2 separate regions of the Homo sapiens genome follow, and region 2 is linked to region 1. Evidence: promoter capture Hi-C in human tissues and cell types (Jung and others, 2019). All regions are on one chromosome and are shown on one strand. The core of a region is centred on a gene start or on the middle of the fragment in contact, and the rest is flanking DNA. Distances in the headings are between cores, read along the strand shown. Region 1 holds the start of MAP3K9 (mitogen-activated protein kinase kinase kinase 9). Region 2 has its middle 180 kb from the start of RGS6.

What was found. The method cuts DNA at HindIII sites, captures the fragments that hold promoters and counts their contacts. A contact is called where the count stands out against the background at its distance.
Region 2: a contact is called between a fragment that was not itself captured here and the fragment with the promoter of MAP3K9 in region 1, in 1 of the 25 tissues and cell types used here (lymphoblastoid cells).

Annotation. Positions count from the first base shown.
Region 1 is chr14:70,808,251-70,812,864 of GRCh38, reverse strand. It overlaps MAP3K9 (mitogen-activated protein kinase kinase kinase 9), which reads left to right and starts at 3,352. Exons shown (of 12, transcript NM_001284230.2): 1 at 3,352-4,099. The coding sequence starts at 3,694. It overlaps MAP3K9-DT (MAP3K9 divergent transcript), which reads right to left and starts at 4,081. Exons shown (of 2, transcript NR_184164.1): 1 at 3,578-4,081. RefSeq lists a silencer at 3,151-3,790. The HindIII fragment of the contact is 18,119 bases long and covers 1-4,614 here.
Region 2 is chr14:71,753,944-71,759,233 of GRCh38, reverse strand. No RefSeq gene overlaps it. Among named protein-coding and RNA genes, the nearest start is that of RGS6, 180 kb to the left of the region's middle. RefSeq lists enhancers at 389-947, 4,325-5,239. The HindIII fragment of the contact is 7,023 bases long and covers 497-5,290 here.

The DNA.
Region 1 (4,614 bases), core at 2,103-4,602:
TTCCACATCTTTTATTCTCTATTAATCAGGTTGTACATATCTTTCAATGCCCAACTTAAGCATCTCCTCATCCATTCTAGTCCTCAGGGAAGGCAGTATTTGATCACCCCACAGCCCTACTCAAAACCTTTCAGTGATAATCTTTTACATGCTGAACAAAACCAAGGCTTCTTCGCCTGGGATTCAAGTCAGCCATCCAGTTGCAAAGAAGTACTGAGAGTCAATTATGTGCTAAGCACTCTCTAGGTGCTGGGAGAGCTGTGGAGAACCAGACAGACTGGTTCCTACCCTTATGGTGGATGCACCAGACATTAAATAATTACAAATAATCAATTACATAATTACTAGTGTGAATCAAGTGATTACAGGGCCCTCTACAGTCTGGTCTCAACCTATCTTTTCAGTTCTTTCTCATCCTTCTATTCCATCCAAATGGTCCCCTCTCCATGCTTTCCTACGTCTGTGGCTGTGCCTATTCCCACCCTCCTTTCCTGAACACACTCTTCCCTGCTCCACCCCATTCCCCTCCAGGACCAGTTCTGGTTCTGCTTCTTCCATGCAACCCTGCCAGACAAGTTTAGTCTGAAAGATCTACCCTCATTTGAATTCCTAGCACTTACCCATTCAACAAATATTAACTGAATGACTTGTTGAAATGTTTGATGAATGATTCTTTATGAGATTCTAAACACATGCTATGGTATTAAAGGTTTAAGTTGCACAGGGAATTAGTTTTCCTATTGAGAAGAATCAATGATTTTTCTCCTCTCTTCCCCTCTTCCCAGGGAGTGGGAAGGAATCCACAAAACTAAATAGTAGAACATACGAAATTATGGAGAAGCAAAATGACAATAAACTTACCCAATTACTCATAATCCGACTACTTAGAGACCCACTACTGACATTTTTCTCTTTTTAGTACTTTTTTTCCTGTTTCTGTTTTGCTGTGTGTCTACAGTTTGTAAAACTTTTTTTCCCTCAAGTTAAAAAAAATTCTTTTTTTTGAGACAGGGTCTTGCTTTGTCACCAGATTGGAATGTGGTATAGCAAACACTGTTCACTACAGCCTTGACCTCCTAGGTTCAAGCAATCTTCCTGCCTCAGCCTCTCAAACAGCTGGGACTACAGGCTTGCACCACCATGCCTGGCAAATTTTAACATTTTTTGTAGAGATAGGGGTCTCGCCATGTTGCTCAGGCTGGTCTCCTTCCTGGGCTCAAGTGATCCTCCTGCCTCAGCCTCCCAAACTGCTGAGATTTCAGGCACGAGCCACCATACCCAGTCCTAAGTTAAAATTTTATCAAGACAATTATTTTCTTATGGCCTTTAAAAAAACACAATATACCTCCATCCCCACTCCCTTGCTCTCTGCTGCTTGACAGTGGAATGGTTTTGTCTAAAACAAAACCTAGATAATTTACTCAGACTCATCCATATCTTTTCCAGTTCATGGATCCTATGTATAATAGGAATCTGAGCATTGTTTTAGGTCTTTACTTAAACAGAAATCCTTTTTCAAGACCTACTCTGGATGCTTTTTAGAACAAGCCTCATCTCTCTTCTTCAAGACCTCAAATGTGTGCTATGACTATACAGTGTAGTCATATTGATGAGCGAACCACAGAATGTTCAAACTATGAGGACACAGGATATCTTCCAGTTCACTCCCCTCACTTTAAGAGTACAGTGTTAGGACACCTGCCTGAAGTCATGCAGCTGCCTAGTTATCTTTCCAAATTGCCCCGCTGTCTTTAGTTTGTGTAATAATAAACCCCAAACTAAAATTCAACAAAAGCACTCACCCTTGCTAAATAAATCATGTCTATTCCTACCACTGAAGGGGAAAAGGTAACAAAGTTTGGTAGAAGTTGGGCTAGATCCTTCAGCACTGGCTTATTTAGAAATTTCAGAGGACTAGGTGAGGTGGCTAAGGCCTGTAATCCTAGCACTTTGGGAGGCCGAGGCAGGTGGATGACTTCAGCCCAGAGTTCAAGACGAGCCTGTACTTCCAGCTACTCGGGAGGGTGAGGTGGGAGGATGGCTTGAGCCTAGGATGTTGAGGCTGCAGTGAGCCGAGATTGCGCCACTGCACTCTGGCCTGGACAACAAACTGAGACCCTGGAAGAAAAGAAAAGAAAAGAAAGGAAAAGAAAAGAAAAGAAAAGAAAAGAGAAAAAAAGATCAGAGAACCTTTCTTACTGGAAGTCAACGTTGCCACGACAGGATTAAAGCAAGAAGAAACATTATGGGCCTCCTATCTCGTCCTTAATGTTCAAAACGCAGGGTATAGCAAAGCATATAGGAAGAGGTCGTCCTCACTCGTGAACTCAGCATCGGGTTCTACGTTTATTCTGCTTTGGTTCTTCTTAATCTGACCTCTATAGACTTCGCCACGATCCAAGGTGTAATTCCAACAGGCAAAAGAAGTCTAAGGATTGTCGAAAAGGTGGCTCCCTTCAGACAGACCAAGCCCAATTCATGGCAGCGTTCCCAGCCCCAGTTTGAAGCTCAGTAAGGTGGTCTCTTGCCTTTCTGAATTCTGAAAAAAGAGTGGTATTGGAATCTCTTCTTACCGGAACCCAGGAGAGGGCGAGCTGTGGTGCAGTCCTCATAAAGGGGAGAACTGTAGTTTTCAGAGTTCTAATGAACATCCCAATGGGCCTAAAAGGCTTCAATAAGAGATGAAAGGTTCCGGGTGAGAGTGGGCGTGGGCGAAGCTGATCCCTCTAGGTCGGACTAAGGCAGAGCCAGATCCAAGAGGGAGAATCCAACTGTAAAAGGGATCTGGGGAAGAAAGAGCTCTGTTGGGGGTGCAGCCGGATGAAGAACACCGGTGCTGCTCAGTGCAGCCCCTACCCATCCATGGCAAACAAAGGCAGCTGCCTCCCTTCCAGCCTTTTAGTTTGAATGAAGGCTCAGTATTACCTTTTAGGATCCACCCTTCCCTTCTCACGCACCCAATGAGGCCGGAGCCTCTTCCTGCCGGGAGGTGCTGAACTCTCCCAGGAAACGGACAGGTGCCGCGAGCCAATGGAGGGAGCTGCGGCGGGCCAGTGGGCGGGAAGAGTGGGTCGACCTGGGTTTGAGAATGACAGAGCCCGCAATGGGGGAGGGCACGGTGCGACGGCGGCGCAGGGGGTGAGAGGGACCTGCGAGACGGCCAGCTAGGCTGCCCCAACCACGGCGGAGGAACCGGGGACTGGGCGGCCGCAGCCAATGGGAAGGCAGCGGGCGCGGGGCGGGGCGGGCGTGGGGCGGAGCCCCCTGGGGTCCGCAGGGCTGGGGCGGAGCCAGGCCCGCGTCAGGTGGTCCCGGCGAGCTGGCGGTGCGGGGGGCGGGGCACGGCACGGCGCGGAGAGGAGAGCGGCGGCCGGCTGGCAGCGGCGGGCACCGGCTGCGCGAGCAGGTACCGGCGGCAGAGGTGACGAGGCCGCCCCCGGGGGGGCGAGCGGGCAGGCGGGGACTCGGCCCGCTGCGCCCCTAGGCTGCGCGAAGAGCTCGCGCTCGGCGCTCTTCTCGTACCGCGGTAACAGCGCCGGCGAGCCGGCTCTCCCAGCCCTGCCAGCCCGGGCCCTACCTGCGGCCGCCGTCGTTGGGGGGGGGTCCTCCCAGCTCTGCGGAGGCGCATGAACAATAGGCGGCGGCGGCTCCTGCGGGCGGCGGCGGCCCCGCACCCTATGGATCGGCCGCTCCATGGAGCCCTCCAGAGCGCTTCTCGGCTGCCTAGCGAGCGCCGCCGCTGCCGCCCCGCCGGGGGAGGATGGAGCAGGGGCCGGGGCCGAGGAGGAGGAGGAGGAGGAGGAGGAGGCGGCGGCGGCGGTGGGCCCCGGGGAGCTGGGCTGCGACGCGCCGCTGCCCTACTGGACGGCCGTGTTCGAGTACGAGGCGGCGGGCGAGGACGAGCTGACCCTGCGGCTGGGCGACGTGGTGGAGGTGCTGTCCAAGGACTCGCAGGTGTCCGGCGACGAGGGCTGGTGGACCGGGCAGCTGAACCAGCGGGTGGGCATCTTCCCCAGCAACTACGTGACCCCGCGCAGCGCCTTCTCCAGCCGCTGCCAGCCCGGCGGCGAGGACCCCAGTTGCTACCCGCCCATTCAGTGTAAGGCGAAGGCGGGGCCGGGCGGGGAGGGGGAATGACGGAGGCCTGGGGGGCGGTCGGGGAAGGGGGGAGCACTGCGCGAGGGCTGGGATGAGGGCGGGGGGTGGGGAGGACGATTGACCTGGGTGTGGGTGGCGCGCGCTTAGGCTGCCCGGGCTTTGCTTGCTGGATAAGCTCGAGACGCCTCAGGCCCTGCCCGCACTTCAGACGCTTGGGCTTCTTCACCTTCAGTTGGCCACCTCAGCAGTGGCTCCCGATTTCCACATCCTGAAGTCCCAGTCTGAGAATTTGCCAGTTTCCCAGTCCCTTCTCTTACCCACCCCCCCGCCGCCCCCCATTCCCAATCTGGAAGTGTTTATGGCAAGATGGTGGTTAGTGTCCTAGCCTTAGTCCCCAAATCAGGGACCTTGCCACCACCTCTTCTAACGCCTGTCCCCGCCTCCTAAAGGCATTTGCTTTCAAAGAGATGGGGGTGTCTCCGCAGGGCTGAGCTGGCTCACAAGTCCCGGAAGCAT
Region 2 (5,290 bases), core at 2,759-5,258, 950 kb before region 1:
GCACCACCACACCCAGCTAGTTTTTTGTGCTTTTGGTAGAGATGACGTTTCACCACGTTGCTCGGCTGGTCTCGAACTCCTGAGCTCAGGCGATCCACCCACCTTGGCCTCCCGAAGTGCTGGGATTACAGGTGTGAGCTGCCGCCCCCGGCCTGAAATATTTTTTTAATGGGAGATTTCAGTTCATCTCTCCACCCCAAAAAATCTAGATTTCTGTTGTTTCTTTACCAAGTGGTCCAGTAACCGGGCTCTGTTTCACATGGCAGCATTCAGCTGCAGATGCCACTCTAGGTGGGACATGTCCTCTCCAGAGGGGCCTGGGGCAAGGCAGGTGAGGGACCCAGGTGCTAAATGCCTGTGGTCTTGCTCTCAGAGCCATGCAAGCACATCGTCGGCTTTTGCACCTCCAGGAGCGAATGCCTCCTACAAGTTCACACAGCGGCCTCCCTCGAGGCCCAGCTCTGCTCTCCAGTGTCTCGCCTGTTTAACTCCCTTGTGACTGCAGCCTGCCTGGCCCCTGTGGGCACGGACAAAGCTGAATGAGCGACTCAGGCTCCTGCAAGCCAGAAGTCAATGGTGGCCCCTAGCACACACCTGCTCCTCTTGTCACAACAGCAGATACGGTAACTCAGAAAAGCTCATTCTGCAAACTTCCTGCTTTCCTTCACTGCTGCTTAAATGTAGTGTTTATATTATTGTAATTAAAAACAACTTCATTATCCAGTGGGAGAGTAATTCTGTGCCCCTTTACAGCATTCTGAGTCTTCCCTATATGGCTCAAATATGCCTCAAACAAGAAACCAGTTGCTAGGGGACCAGCAGGCAAACTTCAAGAGACAGGTGGTTTCTGCCTTTTCTCTCAACTTCTCTATCCAATCCCAGCCCAGGCCAGCCTATCGGTACATTTAGAAAAAAGAAAAATAGAAAACACACACACCGCCCCTCTTCCATAACTTCAAAGGAGACTTTGCATGTGTTATTAGGGAAATCACGAAAGTGGTTTTGAACACAGAATAAAATATGATGACAACGTTTAAACTTGTACCCGTTAACTCTGCTGTCTGGCTTCTTTAGGACACCAGCATGATGTGCTGGTAGAGAAACTCGTATGATATTGTAAGGGCTTTTTTCCTTTTTCATTTCATGTTCCTTCTGCTGGAAATATGAGGGTGGTAGGTTGGACCACAGAAAGAAACCTAAAAAAAAAATTAAAGAACCAAAAATTATTCTATACTAAATTTGCAATGTAAAGCATCGACTTGGTTGGTCAGATAGCCTGTATCTTTTAAAAGATATGGAAGTTCAATTAAATAATAAAAACATTAAAATATTCACAAAGAAAATATGCAACACCAATAAGAGATTATAAAATGTCATGTGCCGCAGGCATGTCTAATTTGTTCTTTTAGTGGCAGGCAGTAAACACGATGTTGAGAAATTTAGATTCGGTCTCTAAGTTGGCAGAAGTCCCTTAGAATAGCACCGTTGTGAACAGGAACCCCCCCAGCATCCTGGGCTAAGGATACTGTGATCTTTTCAGCATTTCCTGAAGTTTTCTGTCTGGAATAGGCTGACCCTGGTATTATCCTGGGACCTCTTCTTTATGCCTGAAATAGCCAGAAAGACTGAAGGCTCAGTCCAGCTTGTGAAGACCAAAATGCTTACTATTTAGCCCTCTATATAAACACCTCTGCTTTAAATCAACACCCAAAGTTGAGATGTTTTTTAGTTCTTCACTTAAAAATATTTTTTACAATATTTGTAAAACCAATTAACTACCTTCACTATTTTCAATGCCCTTGTTTTCTTCTGGTAGTTCAGTGATGTATACATAATACATGTTAGTGATTCAATGTGTCTTTTATCTCTAGAATGATCTAGTTGATTTGGATATATTATATGCATGATTTCTTTTCTCACTGTATTACTCATAACAATCTTGTTCTGAATTCTCCATTCTGGAAAGGGACTATTTCTTTAATTTTCAGCCTGTTTCAGCCATTTTCGCATCAAATTTCAAAATTATTTCTAGTAAGTTTTAAGATTATTCCTTGTTTTCTGTAAATATTCTGTAAATAATCTGTGGTTATCATCAAAAACATCACTTACTTAGCTAAACATTGAACACATAATATTATTTCAGGCCTTCACACCTATTTCCTTGTCTTTGTTGAAACCTTTGACCTTGGCTGTTTATCAAGTCTTCCTTTGTCAGTTTAGTAATGGTGTGAGTGCTTTTTTGATATGCAAGCCTGCTCACTTTTATTAGTGTTTCCACTTGTTAAAAATGTATGCAGTCAGCTGGGCGCAGTGGTTCACGCCTGTAATCCCAGCACTTTGGGAGGCTGAGGTGTGCGGATCACAAGGTAAGGAGTTCAAGATCATCCTGGCTAACATGGTGAAACCCGGTCTCTACTAAAAATACAAAAAAAAAAAAATAGCTGGGCGTGGTGGCGGGCACCTGTAATCCCAGCTACTTGGGAGGCTAAGGCAGGAGAATCTCTTGAACCTGGGAAGTGAAGGTTGCAGTGAGCTGAGATCGCGCCACTGCACTCCAGCCTGGGTGACAAAGCGAGACTCCGCCTAAAAAAAAAAAAAAAAAAAAAAAAAAAAGCATGCAGTCCATTTCTCTGAAGATTTTCTTTCTTTTCTCTTTTCAATCTTTTTTATTTTCAGAGCTCCACTGCCATATTTTCTATTTTTATTATTTTGACTTATTCACATATTATCCAGGACCTAAAAAAATTCAATGCAACTGTATTCTGAATGAATACAATTTTAAAATGTACTAATCAAAAACATGAATTGCCATAAATGTAAAAATTAAAATATTAAAATTATGTTTTCAAAAAATTTTTTCTCTCAAGTAGTCACACATTTTATTTTATTTTTTTTTAGATGGAGTCTTGCTCTCTCACCCAGGCTGGAGTACAGTGGCGTGATCTTGGCTCACTGCAACCTCCACCTCCCGGGTTAAAGCGATTCTCCCAACTCAGTCTTCAAAGGAGCTGAGATTACAGGCATGCGCCACCATACCCAGCTAATTTTTGTATTTTTAGTAGACATGAGGTTTCACCATGTTGGCCAGGCTGGTCTCGAACTCCTGATCTCAAATGATCCACCCACTTGGGCCTCCCAAAGTGCTGGGATTATAGGTGTGAGTCACTGTGCCCAGCCACACATTTTAAATTAAAAGACAGACCTGGCAACGTGGCTCATATCTGTACTCCCAGCACTTTGGGAGGCCAAGGTGGGAGGATCACTTGAGTCCAGGAGTTCAAGACCAGCCTAGACAACATGGTGAGACCCTGCCTCTATTATTTAAAATAAAAAAAATCAAAAGATTTTTTAATGAAAATAAAAGACAAAATTTAAACAACAAAGTAAATCAAGCTTTTTTAAAAGCTGAAATTTTTATTTGATATTTTGAATTTAGATTAAATCTTAAACATTTTTATAAAAATAGCACTATTTAAATTCTACTGGTCATTTTCTATAGAGTTAACAATATAAAGAATCGACATTTCGCTTCAAACATGTTACCTCTAGCCTTTACATACACACATTTAAGAGGAATACGTATTGTTTAATATCACAAAGCACCCTTCAGCCACCATGCGTACCTGTTGTGAATATCAAAGAACTGAAACCATGAATTAGAACACAAAGAGAAGCAAGAGAAAGGACTCAGTACTATTGAGAAGCAACACTTTGTTGAGCTTTGATGCTGGAAGAAAGTATTTGACAAGTGAATTAATCTGTCTTCCCTCCGCCCTAGGCACTTCTAATATTTAAATCCTTTCCACGTTTCTGAGCAGAAGAGCCTCTAAACTTTCAAGCCGCTCTGGGAGCCTCTAAACTTTCAAGCCACTCTGTCACAGCCACCTTCTGTTTGGAAGACACAGGGTGAAAGATAAGAAAGGCAATTTCAGGCCAGGCTTTGTGGCCCATGCCTGTAATCCCGGCACTTTGGGAGGCCAAGGCAGTCGGATCTCTTAAGACCAGGAGTTCAATACCAGCTTGGCCAACATGATGAAACCCCATTTCTACTAAAAATACAAAAAGTAGCCGGGTGTGGTAGCACGCGCCTGTAGTCCCAGCTACTTGTGGGGCTGAGGCAGGAGGATCGATTGAGCCCAGGAAGTCGAGGCTGCAGGGAATCGTGATTGTGCCACTGCACTCCAGCCGGGGTAACAGAGTGAGACCCTTTCTCTCAAAAAAGGGGGGTGGGGACGAAAAGGCAATTTCTCTGAGGCCTGAACAGTGTTCCTGAGGACAGCATCTGTTTAGGGTTACAGGTGACCCTGTGCCAGCTCTAGGGGCCACATCTCAGTGACAGAAGCGCTAGGCATTCTTTCACACATTGTGCCCCCTGGGGATATGCAGGTCCCATAAGAGGGACACGGTGCCCCTCTTGTCCAGGTTTAAGGGTGGCACTGTGAGGGCCCATTTCTCTGGGATGAGCCTGCCTAGGGCTGGGCTCAGGAGGCAGGAAGACTAGAATGGAATGTGAGAGCTTCCCACGCTCAGAAAGGTGACTGGTGTCTCCAGCTTCTGAGCAGTCCCAGCGATGCGGCAGGGCCTCAGGGGAATAACCGCTTGAACTCAGCAGGGGAGGCGGGCCCAGCCTGTGCAGTGACCTCCACGCCCTGGCTCAACAGGAGGGCATTGAGGACCAGGGGGGTGAGGACGAGGGGTCTGTAAACCAGCCAGTGGCAACCAGAAACCAGAGGCCTCTCCTGCCCGCACCCCGGGACCTTGATAGGACCCCGATAGGACCCCGAGAGGGAAGAAGAGAGCCTCTGTCATGAAAAGAATTGTATTCCAGCCTCGCCAGATTAGATTTGACTTGAAGCAGGAAGAAAGAAATGTGACATTTCTCACCTCATTTTGTTCAAAAAAATCAGAATCCACCACGGAAGTAAATTTGTTTGAGTCGTGGCACGTTTCTCCAGCTCTTCTCTCCTCCACCCCTGGAAGCGAGGGGAGCCCACGGTCTGGGGAAGGGCGGACGTCGGGGCCTTCCCTACCGGACAGCACTGCCGCTTCTGCCATCTGCCTTCCTCCTTCTGCGGACTGTCCCTGCCGGAGGCCCCCAGCGGCCTGGCCTCGCATCAGATCGCCTGAGGGCCTCTCAGGTGTTGGTGGAGGGAGGTCATCTGGGTGGGAGAAGTTTTGCCATCAGCCTGAGGAGAGGACAGTGGGGATTCTGGGCAGAAAACAATGCGAACCATCAACAGAATATACATATATATATATATATATATATATATATATATATATATATATA